Linked DNA regions of Homo sapiens: all the other regions are linked to region 1. The links are contacts of gene promoters, found by promoter capture Hi-C in blood cells and fetal thymus (Javierre and others, 2016). All regions are on one chromosome and are shown on one strand. The core of a region is centred on a gene start or on the middle of the fragment in contact, and the rest is flanking DNA. Distances in the headings are between cores, read along the strand shown.

Region 1 (3,216 bases), core at 622-3,121:
AATAAATAAAAGGAGGAAAAAATCTGAGCAAGACTGCAGCCACAGCCCCAAGAGAAGTTAGCTATGACTCTAGATGCTTCCCAGTTGTGAGGGGAGAATACAAGCCTTGGCCCTGTGGTCCCCTCCCTCTCAGGGCCCCTCTCCACCCTTGCTGCCTGAGGTGGAGGAGCGGATAAACACACAGATTGCCCATTGTAGAATAGACTAGGACATATGGAGCTCTGCGCAGCTGCCCCAGCTCTGCACAGCTCCCCTCCCAGTTCCCCAAACCTTCCCAGCAGAACCATTGTAGATATGAGATCCTGTCCACTAAAACCAGGGGAAGATATCTCTTCTCACCACCACCCCACTGTGCACAACCAGCCTCTTCCTCCACCTCTGTCTTCGAAATTTTCAGCCCTTGCCATTCCCTGGCCCTTTTGGAGGCTGGGCAAGGAAGATTGGGGAAAGGGAACATAATCAACCTTCTACCCCCATACTCTCCCATAGCCCAAGGAAGGTTCAGACACGGCCTGCAGAGGACACAGACAGATTTTTGGAGCTACCCTTATGGGACTCAGCTAAGGTTTGCTTGTCCTAGGACCAGAGGAGATCAGGGCAAGGCAGCACAAACATGGCCTGGGAAAAGCTGGGGAAAGGGCTTTGCTTGTGTGCAGTGTTAAAGGGGAACAGTGGGCCACTCACCATCAGCTCAACTAAGAATGATTAGAAACAGAAGCACCAAGGTGCCTGCACCATCACTATCTCCCCTTCCTCCCCAGCCCTGGCTTTCCTGTCTGATAGATACTCTCAAAGGGGTTAGGATCCTCCCAAGCCTTGCCCCACCCCACCACACAGAAGATAGGTTCAAGTCAAGCCAACAAACAGCTATGAAGCTCTGGAGGGATGCAAAGTCATCCACATCTGATGACAAGTACACACACAATCTTAACAGGAAACAGAAGGTGGTTAGTGCTGAAATTGAGAACACATTCCATATTCTGGGGTTCAAATGAACTATGGGGGGATGGCAATAGTGTGGGAGGCCCCAAAGTCAGCACCTCCCAGTACATGTTTAGTGCCCCCAACTCCCCACCCCCCATGCTGGGGCTGGGAGCAGGAGTTCAGCTGCGGAGTTCCCAACACATTTATCACATCTATCACAGGCTAATTCTCTCTGCCCGGTCCCTATGTTCCTTCATCCCTCATCACTTTGCCATGCCCTTCCTTCCCCTCTCCGTGCTCCCCATCTGGCCCCAGTCTCATCTCCACCTGGCCCCATTGTCCTCCCCAGTTCCAGTCCCGGCAGCAGCTTCTATTTACCCATCAAGTCCTCACCCCCAAATCCACTTCTGGTCTCAAAGTTCCAGGGTCCAAGGATCAGGGGAGCAGCAATTCCAAGCCTGCAGGACAGGACTTCCCACCCCACTTCTGCCAGCCCTAACCCAACTGAGGATAGATAGGCACAAAGAGTCGAAGGGGAGGAGTGGAGAAGAGGGACACGCGGAGACAGGGAGAGACACAGCGCACAAGGGAGAGAACTAGAGGGAGGCTCTAGGAAGGGGCTTGAGCCAGAGAATGGGAGGGACACGCCCATCCCTCCCCGCCCATGGTTTCCCCTTTACCTAGAAGGACCCTGTCAGGGGATCCAAGCCGGCAGGACAAGGGGCAGCGTTGACAGCCCCAGTCTCCTCTGGGTGCTCAAGGCTCATCCGTCTGCAAAGTTAGTGACCAGCTTTCTAGACTCTCAGGGGTAGCGTGGCATGGCTGTACAGGCTCCAGGGCAGATAAGAGGGGTACACATTGTGGGGGTGTAGGGCCCAGGTGGAAGTGGTGGGCTTGGCCAGGTACTGGGGCCAGCCACACTCACACACACACCCTCAGACACACACACCTGAGCTGGCCCAGCCCTATGTATATATATGGAGATACACACACACACCCCCAGCTCTCCATTGGCTGGCCCAGGCCCACCCCCCCCTCATCAATATTAAACAGCCAGGCCAGGCAGCCATTGGCAGAGGGATCTGGGAACCCCTCGGGAGCTGGGGGCGGGGGCTGGCCCTGGGTGGGGGCGGGGAGCGGGGGAGCAGGGACATCTGTTCTCCATGCATATTTCATAAGCAAGAAATGGAGAGCTGGGGAAGGGGTGGGGCTGGGGCGAGAGCCAGGGCAGGACCACAGATGAACCCCCTCAGTCTCCCACACCAGAGGCAGCAGGGCAGAGGCTCCCAGCAAGCTATGGTTAAGTGCCATGGCCCCATTCGGAGTCCCAGCGTGACTTGGACAGCCCCTTCCTGGTGTCTCTTTTTTCCTGAGAGGGAGACTCTTCAAGGTACTAACAGGGAAACCGAGAAAAGAGCAAGTGGGTAGCACTAAAATGCAGAAGAGGACCCTAGGGTCCTGGCCCTCAAGCTCTTATCCTTCATAAAGCTGGTACCCACTGCTTGCCAGCCTGCCTGTAGCAACTGTTCAGGCCCCTACCCTCATCACCCTGGGACTCAATCACCCCCATACCCTCTTACCCCACCCGCTATCTTCCTACCTAACCCATCACCAAGGGGAGGAGCAGGATCAAATTTGGGACACAGACCCCACAAGGAGTTTTTCTAGGCTGGCCAGCCCAACCTGACCCACTGGGAATTAGAGGGCTCTTAGGAAGAAAGAGGTAAGGGCTAAAAGGAGAGGAGTGGAGGAGTGCCAAGACAGGAAGAACCAGGATTGGAAGGACACTGGGAGAGGAGGGCAGGGCAGCCTAGGCAGGCTCTGAGTGTGTTTTGAGGGCATCAAATCAGCAATAAGAAAACCAGACACAAAATTATATGCAAATGGGCACTGATTAAGCTCCCATCAATAGCTCAGCAGCCTCCAGCATGTATATGCAAGTGTGTGTGAATGTGAATGTAAGTGTGAGTGTGTGTGTGTATGTGTGTGTTGCCGAGTGGCAGGATTGAGGAGGGGCAGCACAGGGACCAGAGTGCATAGAGAGACAGTGCATAGAGGGTTTCAGTGTCTGAAGTTCTCTCCCCACTCAGCTGTTGGATGTCTTCTCTGAACCTTTGAGAGTATTCAAAAGAACCATGACTGGAGAGGACTCCAGAGGTAGTGTGGTACAGTGAAAAAGGCTCTGTCAGCTGTGTGACCTTGGACAAATAACAACCTTTTGAGCCTGGACCTCTTTTCCTGTAAAATGGGGTTGATTATAGCTGCTTCTTAGGTTGCCATGGAAATTAAGGG
Region 2 (3,220 bases), core at 476-2,975, 220 kb before region 1:
AGAAAGTAATTAGGTCCTTCAATTCAGCTTGCATGTTGAGAATACCAAAATTGTCACAAAATTTAGCCCTTCCCGTCCTGATATTTATCATGTTAGGTTACTCACATGCTGCTGCTGATCGTGTTTTTGAGTCAACTAGAAAAGCACAATCCATTAGATAAATAACCTCTAAGTTCATGACCCCATACACTAGGTAGTTGAGAAAACTGCATAAGAATGAAAACATTTTGGCTGGGCGCAGTGGCTCATGCCTGTAATCCCAACACTTTAGGAGGCCGAGGTGGGCAGATCACCTGAGATCAGGAGTTCAGGACTAGCCTGGCCAACACGGCGAAACCCCATCTCTACTAACAATGCAAAAATTAGCCGGATGTGGTGGTGCACATCTGTAATCCCAGCTACTCAGGAAGCTGAGGCAGGAGAATCGCCTGAATCAGGAGGCAGAGGTTCCAGTGAGCCGAGATCATGCCAGTGCACTCCAGCCTGAACAACAGAGCGAGACCGTGTTTGTTTTTGGACATTCAAGATTCAACTACACAATGAGAAATTCCCACAATAACATATATGTCAAAGGTCCATCCAGTCTTGGCTTTAACTGTTGATTCCGGGATGACAATTGTTAGGGGGAAATCTGTAGGTTGAAATGCTCTACTTTCCTGGAGCAACATTTATGGTTTACTAGTTCTGTCCATGGAGACCCCTTGACACCAAACACCAGCATTTCAAATACCTGGCTGTAATTATCACACTGATCCACATGATGCCTTAATCACAGCCCCCTCACTAGGTTTTCTCTTTTCCGGGCCAATGAATCCCAATTCTTTCACTGTTTGTCATATGGAAGTGTTGAACATAGCCCTGGAAACAAACCTAGTACTCAATAAATCATAATTTTGTCTGTCTTATTGTTCCGTGCCCAGTCTTTTACAATCTGTTGCCCTCTGGTGGATAGTTTTCCAGATCATTAATGTCCAAATGGTGTATTATAATTAACCTATTAGTGATAATACTATTAAGAATGAACATTTATTAAAAGCTTATAATGTGCCAAGCACTTTGCTAAGTGTTTTCAGACATTCTCATTTAATACTCAAAACAAACTTAACACGCTAATATGGCAATTCTTATTTTACGGATGAGGAAAACAACACTTAGAACAGTTAAGAAACCTGATCAGGGTGGCACAGTTGAGGGGTGGGGGCAGTGATCCTTCCCCTTTTCTCCCAAGCCTTCATTTACTTGCATCACAGTGCCATCTTATAACTTTATATTGGTTCTCATCTAAACTGTGGTTTCCTCCCTTCACTTTTCTCATGACAGGTTTTTTTTTGTTTTTTCGGTTTTGTTTTTTGTTTTTTTTTTAATGTTCCGATAAAACTTTACATTTATACGCTGGGCGCGGTGGCTCACGCCTGTGATCCCAGCACTTTGGGATGCCGAGGTGGGTGGATCACCTGAGGTCAGGAGTTCCAGACCAGCCTGGACAACATGGTGAAACTCTGTCACTACTAAAAATACAAAAATTAGCTGGGTGTGGTGGTGCATGCCTGTAATTCCAGCTACTCGGGTGGCTGAAACAGGAGAATCGCTTGAACTCAGGAGGCAGAGGTTGCAGTGAGTCGAGATCACGCCACTGCACTCCAGCCTGAGCTACAGAGTGAGACTCGGTCTCAAAAACAAACAAACAAACAAAACTTTACATTCAGAAACAGGCAGCAGAAAGGCTGTATTTTGATGATTCCTGTATTAGTTAGTTTAAATTTGTTTTCCCATTCAATTATCCTAAATAAACTTTAGATAAGAAATCAGGCCGGGCGGGGTGGCTCATGCCTGTAATCCCAGCACTTTGGGAGGCCGAGGCAGGTGGATCACCTGAGGTCAGGAGTTCAAGACCATCCTGGCCAATATGGTGAAACCCTGTCTCTACTAAAAATACACAAATCAGCTGGGCATGGTGGTGTGCACCTGTAATCCCAGCTACTCGAGTGGCTGAGGCAGGAGAATCACTTGAACCTGGGAGGCAGAGGTTGCAGCGAGCCGAGACTGTGCCATTGCATTGGGCAACAAGAGCGAAAACTCTGTCAAAAAAAAAAAAAAAAAAAGAATTCACAGGTTATTCAACTTGACCACCTGATATTGAGACAAGTATTCAACTTGACCACCTGATATTAATACAAGTATTCCACTCAATAAGTAGGAAAACTGAATTTGAAACTCAAGTTTTGTGACTCCAACACTTGAGAGTGTGTAATCTTCTTTTTTAAAGATTTAATTAATTTTTTAAATTGACAAATAATAATTGTACATATTCATGAGTTACATAGTGATGTCTTGATATATATAATTTATAGTGATCAAATCAGAGTAGTTAGCTTATTCATCCTGATGGTTTTATTGTAAAGCTCAAAGCTTTGGTCACAGAGGCAAACGTTTTTGGAGTCTTTTTATGCTATTTGGTTTTTTGTATTGCTTGTTCAGAGCCTAAACTTTGCTTGACACTACAAAAATTGCATGTACTCTTTCATTTCCCTTTTAATTATTTGCAGAATTAAAAATGTTTTCATATTTCTCTTATTCAAACCCTTCGTTGTTTTGCTTTCATGACATCAACTCTCCTGTTTTCCTCCTATTGCTTTAATAATTCTTTCTTTCTTCTCTTTTCTTTCAGTTATAGTTGTTTTCCAGAGTTTTATTCTTATGTTTTGTTTTTTAATTTACCCTTTATCTAGTATAGAGAATTTTTCAACATGGAATTAAAGATAATTATGAATCAGGTACAACTGAAGACTATGAAAAGACTTGGAAATGAAAGCGTATTACCAAAGTTTAAAACTCAAGCAAATAGCTGAAAACTGTAAACATAGCTGAGAACCCATGTTTGGAAGACATTCTATAGGGTGTCTATAAGGAACTCTATCAGTATGTAAAGCAAGAAGACAAAGAGAAAATCAGGAGATATTAATTCAGCAATATAGAGGATAGCTTTAAATATTTAGGAGGACTTTTAGGAAGAGCAAGTAGAAAGGCCAAAAAGGAAGCCATAATCAAAGACACAGAAGAAAAATTCCCTTTGATAAAGAAAGATTTGAACCATCAGACTGAAAATACAACTGATTCCAGCCAGAAATATGCCATGCAAACACACCAGGACACATCCTTGTAAAATCTTGAATTTCTGTGATAAAGGGAAAATCTTAAGTGTTTCCAGATGGAAAAGTTA
Region 3 (3,067 bases), core at 558-3,057, 150 kb after region 1:
ACTCTGGCCCAGAAGTTCTCTGTCGGCTCCCCCCGCAGGCTCCAATTCAGGTACTGTATGTTATTCTCTTGTTCCTCTTGCCACTGGCTTTTTCCTTAGTCTTAAGTTCCAAGGAATTGTTCCCCTGTGTTTTTTTATTTTCCTGACTTATTCAAGCAGAGCTAGCTCAGAGTACAGGTCTGTAACAAGGGCTTATTAGGAGATAGATGAAAAAGTGCAGGTTTGTATATGTAAGTTGTCCATTACTATAGATAGATACTATTCCAGGCATTGGACTTTAACTGCACTGCCTAAAAGAGCCCAAAGATAAACTTCACAATAGGCTGATATGTGGAATGGGAGGAGGAGATAAAGAACGGGGTTTCTGTTTTATTCATAAGCTCAGTCTTAGCTTCAGTCTTTTCTGAGCATTTGTTTATTTGTAAGATGGAAGTCAAAGTAAGTGGGAAGTCTGTAGGTCAGCTCTATTTTCCATGCCTGCCCTTGACTTCTCCTCAGCTGTTCTCTGCCTGTGCAGGTGAGGCAGCGGAGGTGGTTGGTCCAGAGAGAACTAAAAGAAGTTGTTTTCTTGGACTATAGGTCCAGCTGCAAGGCAGGGTGCCTTTCCTATGTGTTCCTCTTTTCACTAAAAGACTCAAAATGCTTTAGCAGCTAGATCTGGAACTAACTCTTCTGGATGGGGTAGGAACTTCCCTGCCCTTCCCTTAGGGAAGCTCATGTTTCCAAGTCAGACAGCAGGGGGCATTGGGTGCCTTTCGGACAGAAGGAAGCTGCCTAAGCTAGAAGGCCTGCCTGCTGGAGTTTATTTCTTTTGCCTTGTTCAGTGAATTTACCCAGAGGGTGGCTGAGATTGAGGCTTTGGGAGCCCCAAGAAGCTGCTTGGTTTTAATGTGCTGCCTTATAGCTGAGCCTGTTGTGCTCAGGGCAAGTAGTAGGATGTTCCCCCTGGGATGTGCAAGGTTCTCTCAAGCAGACATGAGCCTCCATCACTCCCACCACTCCCTGCAACTCAGCCTCCTCTTCTCAGCCTGTGCCTTCCTCCAGTTCTAGTAAACACTGCCAAATGAATATAGTTCTCCGACTCTTCTCTGGGGGTTCATTGGCAGCTGCTGCTTTCTTCATTTTTTAAAATTTATTTGCCACTTGGTGAAAGCCACTGAGATGGTTTTTTCCAGCCTTGGGCAAGTTGGAGCTTTGGAATCTGGAGTGAATGAGGTCATCTGGATTTCATTGTCTTCTTACGAAGCCAGCAGTAAGCTTGGGCAGTCCACTCACCCACCCCTAGGGCCATATCTGGGGATGAAGCCACCCCCGACCTATACATAGGAAATGATTGATGTGCCTGGTCTTATACCCAGTCTGTGTCTGGTTTCTCTACCCTCAGTGCCCTTTGGCTTAGGCTCAGGATGGGTGGGCCTCCCTTCCCCAGCAGCTGCCTCAGCCCTGATCAAGGGCAGTTATTTGGCTCAAGGTGAGTAGTGGTTTTTAAACCCTACTCCCACACACTGCTGAGTCTGTGTTTTCCTTTCTTCCTGACCAGGTAAACTGTCTTGAGCCCCACCCTCACCTGCCTGTGCTGGCAACCAGTGGCCTAGACCATGATGTGAAGATCTGGGCACCCACAGCTGAAGCTTCCACTGAGCTGACAGGGTTAAAAGATGTAAGTGGCTGACTGCAGAAGTTATTTTCTTTCTGCTTATCCACATACTGTTGATTCTTATTGTCATAGGGAGGAATAACTTGCTGCCCAGTTCTTTAAAGGCACTGCTCTAACACCCTCCCCCACATTCCTGTAATTTCCTCTGTAGGAATAGTCCTGCTCCAGGGGGCAGCTGTGAAGTGGCACTAATTTGTAATAGGATGGGGATAAGGAGCATCTTTAAGAATTATTCTGTATTAAAGCCTGCTACCTTTTCAGCAGCTGAACCTAGGGCATCATTTCCTAATCTAATGTAGCTCCACTTCAACTTAAGGGAAGCTTTTATTGGGATAGGAGATCAGCCTTCTTGATCAGGTCCCGGGTTCCTCTTCATTGCTGCCCCCTCTTCCCAACCTTTTTGGGTTCCAGGTGATTAAGAAGAACAAGCGGGAGCGGGATGAAGATAGCTTGCACCAAACTGACCTGTTTGATAGTCACATGCTGTGGTTCCTTATGCATCACCTGAGACAGAGACGCCATCACCGGGTAAGCTAGGGTTGGAAATGAATTCCCAAGGGAGTGACCCTTTTAAGAGGGCTAAAAAGTTCCAGAGTAGTGACTTCAAGCAGTAATCAGGTGATCTTGGTCGGATTTCCTATCCACTGTCCTCTGTCCCCATCAGATCCCTGATATAGCCTTGGAAGAGACATCAGCAGAAAAGGGTGGTATCTACTTTTGTCCATTGCCGTCCATGTGTAATGCTATCTTCATAAAGGCAAAAGCTGGAGGGTGGAGGAGGGAATTGAGAAGAAATAACAAGTCTCAGTGTGACCCTTCTATTTTTCCTCTTATGCCAAAAGAGGCCTAGTTCAGGGGTTGGCAAACTGGCAGTTGGCCTGCTGCTGGTTTTTGTAAATAAAGTTTCATTGGCTTGCAGCCATACCCATTCTGTGTATTGTCTGTGGCGGCCTTCACGCTACAATGAGTTGAATAGTTGCAATAAAGACCATATAGACCACAAGTCTAAAGTATTTACTCTCTGGCCCTTTAAGAAAAATTCTGCTGATCTCTGGCCTAAAGCATCTAAATTCTGGCTAAGACCTAACAGGCTTGTCCTTGTTCCATCCAGGGAAGTTACTAACAAGCCTTTCCCATCCACAGCGCTGGCGAGAACCTGGGGTTGGGGCCACAGACGCGGACTCTGATGAGTCTCCCAGCTCCTCAGACACATCGGACGAGGAGGAGGGCCCTGACCGGGTGCAGTGCATGCCATCTTGAGGCCTCATACCTAGGTGGGGCAGGCTGGGGCTGCCAACCTGATCCTGCCTGGGCAACCCTTTCCTGTCCCAGGCCCTACATTCAGCAGAAACGCACTTTGGACTTTTTGCTTTAGATAAAAGAAAGACATCCCAGGAGAAGGACAAACCA
Region 4 (3,092 bases), core at 1-2,500, 240 kb after region 1:
TCAATCTCCATTGCTATGGGTGTCCGCCCAACCTCCAGGCCTGAGGCGAGAGTAGCTATGCGGCCCATCACCGTCCGGTCTCCTGTGGCAATCACAATGCCCCTGGCAGTGCCTGCAACATGGTGGGGCATCAGGTTGGGTGCCTTGTGGCTCCCAGGGACTGCAGTCCCATCCTATTTCCTGAGCAAGGAAAATCATCACAGGATAGGTGAGCCAAAGCCGCAGATCTGGAGGCCACATTCAGTAGGTTGTCCCCACTTGGCCTTCCTTTCCCTGGATAGATCGCCAATCCTTGAATCAATACAACAGCAAATTATTTTCTCTTGTACTCGAGCCTGGGGAGAAGCTTGCAAATAATCTCAAAGTTCAAATAGACAAGATTCAATAAATAAAAATTGCCTGTGGCATTTTGGTAAAATCATTCCCATACTTGATACCATCCAAAAGTATATTATGAACACAAAGTAAAGCACTCATTATGGATTTTCCATCCAGTCTTAAGATTTTCTTTCTCAACATTAGGCATGAATCTCTATAGAGGAAGCCAGGCAATTGCTAACCCTTGTGTGACATTACAGGGGTCTTCTGGGAAGGAAGGGTGGTGTATTGAAAAAAGCATGCACATTGGAGCCAGCCAAATTTGGGTTTGAATCCTTATTTGAATTCCTATCTCGGTGCTGTTTTAATATTTAGATGAGATTGTGCTTTAATATACTTAGGCCAGTGCCTGGAACATAGCGGGTGCTCAACAAATATCTCATTTATTTCCTTTCCTCTTTTCAAAGCCAATTGCAGAGTAAGCAATAGGAATGTATTACTAGGCATTTCTGAATAAATCAATTGTGGGAAATGTAAATTTCAAAATCTCAGTACATTAAAAATTTAGGAAATTTGGCCAGGCTCGGTGGCTCATGCCTGTAATCCCAGCACTTTGGGAGGCTGAGGCAGGAGGATCACTTGAGCCCAGGAGTTTGAGGCCAGCCTGGGTAACATAGTGAGACCCCATCTCTAATATACATATATATATATTAGCTGGGTGTGGTATCACGCGCCTGTAGTCCCAAATACTCTGGAGGCTGAGGTGGGAGATCGCTTGAGCCTGGGAGGTCAAGGCTGCAGTGAGCTGTGATTGCACCACTGCACTCCAGTCTGGGTGACAAAGCAAGATCTTGTCTCAAAAGCAAAACAAAAAACAAACTTAGGAAATGTAATGTGTGGTGATTTTTATTTGTACAGTTGGCCCTCCATATTCACAGATTCCATGTCCATAGATTCAACCAACCTCAGATCGAAAATATTTGGAGCTAAATAAAAATAACAATACAACAATAAAAATAATACAAATTTAAAAACAAAACAGTATAAAAATTACATTGCACTCGGTATTATAAGTAATCTAGAGTTGATTCAAAGTATATGGGAGGATGTGCGCAGATTATATGCAAATATTATGCGATTTCATATCAGGGCCTTTGAGGATCCTTAGATTTTGGTAACGAAGGGGGTCCTGGAACCAATCCCTCATGGATTCCAAGCAGTGGAATTCCAACTTGTCGAAGAAGGGAAAAAAACCACAGAGAAACATAATACACTGAGGAGAAATGAGTAATGGACAGGGGAAGTGTGGATTGGGATATGAGGCCTCCTTTGCCCTATTTTCAGAGGCCACTGGTCTAGTGAGGCCTCTTTCTGTCTCTTCCCTCCTACTCCTTCTCTGATGCAGCCCTGACTCTGCTCACTGGCTTTACCACAGAGGGCACAGGTTTCAGTTGTGCTTGGACCCCTGCCATTAAGTGATGGCAGCTCTGGGAGTTCTTATTGACCTTTGTTTATCTCTAGAACCCAGAACAGGGATGGGGCAAACTGGGTAGTCTGTGCATGGTGAAACATGTCTTTTGATGTAACAAAGGTTAGAAGCAGCCTGAAGTAGGCCCCAAGTGTTCACCTGGCCAGAATGCCTTCTTGGCCCTCCCAGACCCTGGGGCCCTGGCCAAAGCAAAGGTTATCGAAGGGGGCAGCGAGGCCCAGAACCACAAGGAATAGAAGCATCAATCAAATCCAAAGACTCCTAAGAATCCAGGTTGGTTCTGAGCGTATGTGCATCTGTGTGTGCGCATGCGTAAGGGGTTCTTAACCCAATACCTGAAAGCTTTGAAATCCACTCAGTCTTGGGGTGGACAGAACAGAGATCTCCCTGGGGAAGGGAGATACATTTCCCATGGAGTCAGGCTGCCCTCAGTCAATACCCTGCTCTGTGGAGGGTGTTTCCATAATATTCAGGGCCCCCTGACCCCTCAATTGCCCCACCAATGGCAGAGCTTTTGCCAGGTAAGTACTACCAGAGCCCTTCATCCTGACTATGGATTCAGGATTCAGACTCTTTCCTACAGGGGGCAGCCTGGCTTCTCACCTTCAACACAGTTGGTGGAGAAGAAACAGATATTGCGGGTCTCCAGGGGGTTCTCATGGGTGAACTCGGGGGAGCGGGTCTGGGGCTCCGACTCTCCTGTTAAGGATGAGTTATCCACCTGAGGAGGAAGGAGTGCATAGTCATCAGACTGGCAGAGCCACTTGTATGCACACAGCTGTCTCCTGAACCACCTCCAACCACACTCAATCTTCATGACACGAGGAACAAAGTCACACTTGCCCTCATCACATATTTATGGCATTACTCATCTATTGCCCCTGCCCTGGTTTGGAATTCTGACTCCTCCTGACTTCTTATGTGACCTCGGGTTACTTGCTTAACCAAGAGAGCCTCCATGTACTCAACTGTAAAATGGTGAATGTAAACAGAATCTCTGCCTTGCACAACCACAGGGGGAGACACTAACACTGTAGTTATGAAAATGCACCTCCTGGGGTCATTCAGGATGCAACGTGTGTGGCCACATTCAGCAGCCCTGCATGATTACACCACTCTTTCAGAATTACATCAGATAGCACATCGAACATATATAAAGCAGCTGACACATAATTGGTATTCAATACATGATTGCTAAAAAGTGGACAACAAAGAAATACCTGGGGCATAGAGCATTCATAACACACAGATGCAAGGAGGCACTGCACAAGCACCCCACACTGAG

Evidence for each region. The method cuts DNA at HindIII sites, captures the fragments that hold promoters and counts their contacts. A CHiCAGO score of 5 or more calls a contact.
Region 2: a fragment that was not itself captured here is called in contact with the fragment with the promoter of NHLH1 in region 1 in 6 of 17 cell types (total B cells, naive B cells, naive CD4 T cells and 3 more); the score reaches 8.4 in total B cells.
Region 3: a fragment that was not itself captured here is called in contact with the fragment with the promoter of NHLH1 in region 1 in 1 of 17 cell types (erythroblasts); the score reaches 5.5 in erythroblasts.
Region 4: a contact is called between a fragment that was not itself captured here and the fragment with the promoter of NHLH1 in region 1, in 1 of 17 cell types (erythroblasts). The highest score is 5.9, in erythroblasts.

Annotation. Positions count from the first base shown.
Region 1 is chr1:160,365,726-160,368,941 of GRCh38, reverse strand. It overlaps NHLH1 (nescient helix-loop-helix 1), which reads right to left and starts at 1,871. Exons shown (of 2, transcript NM_005598.4): 1 at 1,605-1,871. The HindIII fragment of the contact is 14,453 bases long and covers 1-3,216 here.
Region 2 is chr1:160,585,608-160,588,827 of GRCh38, reverse strand. No RefSeq gene overlaps it. Among named protein-coding and RNA genes, the nearest start is that of CD84, 7.7 kb to the right of the region's middle. The HindIII fragment of the contact is 1,373 bases long and covers 1,039-2,411 here.
Region 3 is chr1:160,217,442-160,220,508 of GRCh38, reverse strand. DCAF8 (DDB1 and CUL4 associated factor 8) reads left to right here. Exons shown (of 14, transcript NM_015726.4): 12 at 1,541-1,660; 13 at 2,069-2,185; 14 at 2,801-3,067. The coding sequence ends at 2,917. Among named protein-coding and RNA genes, the nearest start is that of PEA15-AS1, 10 kb to the right of the region's middle. The HindIII fragment of the contact is 347 bases long and covers 1,634-1,980 here.
Region 4 is chr1:160,124,572-160,127,663 of GRCh38, reverse strand. ATP1A2 (ATPase Na+/K+ transporting subunit alpha 2) reads right to left here. Exons shown (of 23, transcript NM_000702.4): 7 at 2,411-2,528; 8 at 1-112. Among named protein-coding and RNA genes, the nearest start is that of ATP1A2, 10 kb to the right of the region's middle. RefSeq lists an enhancer at 2,268-3,092. The HindIII fragment of the contact is 1,803 bases long and covers 349-2,151 here.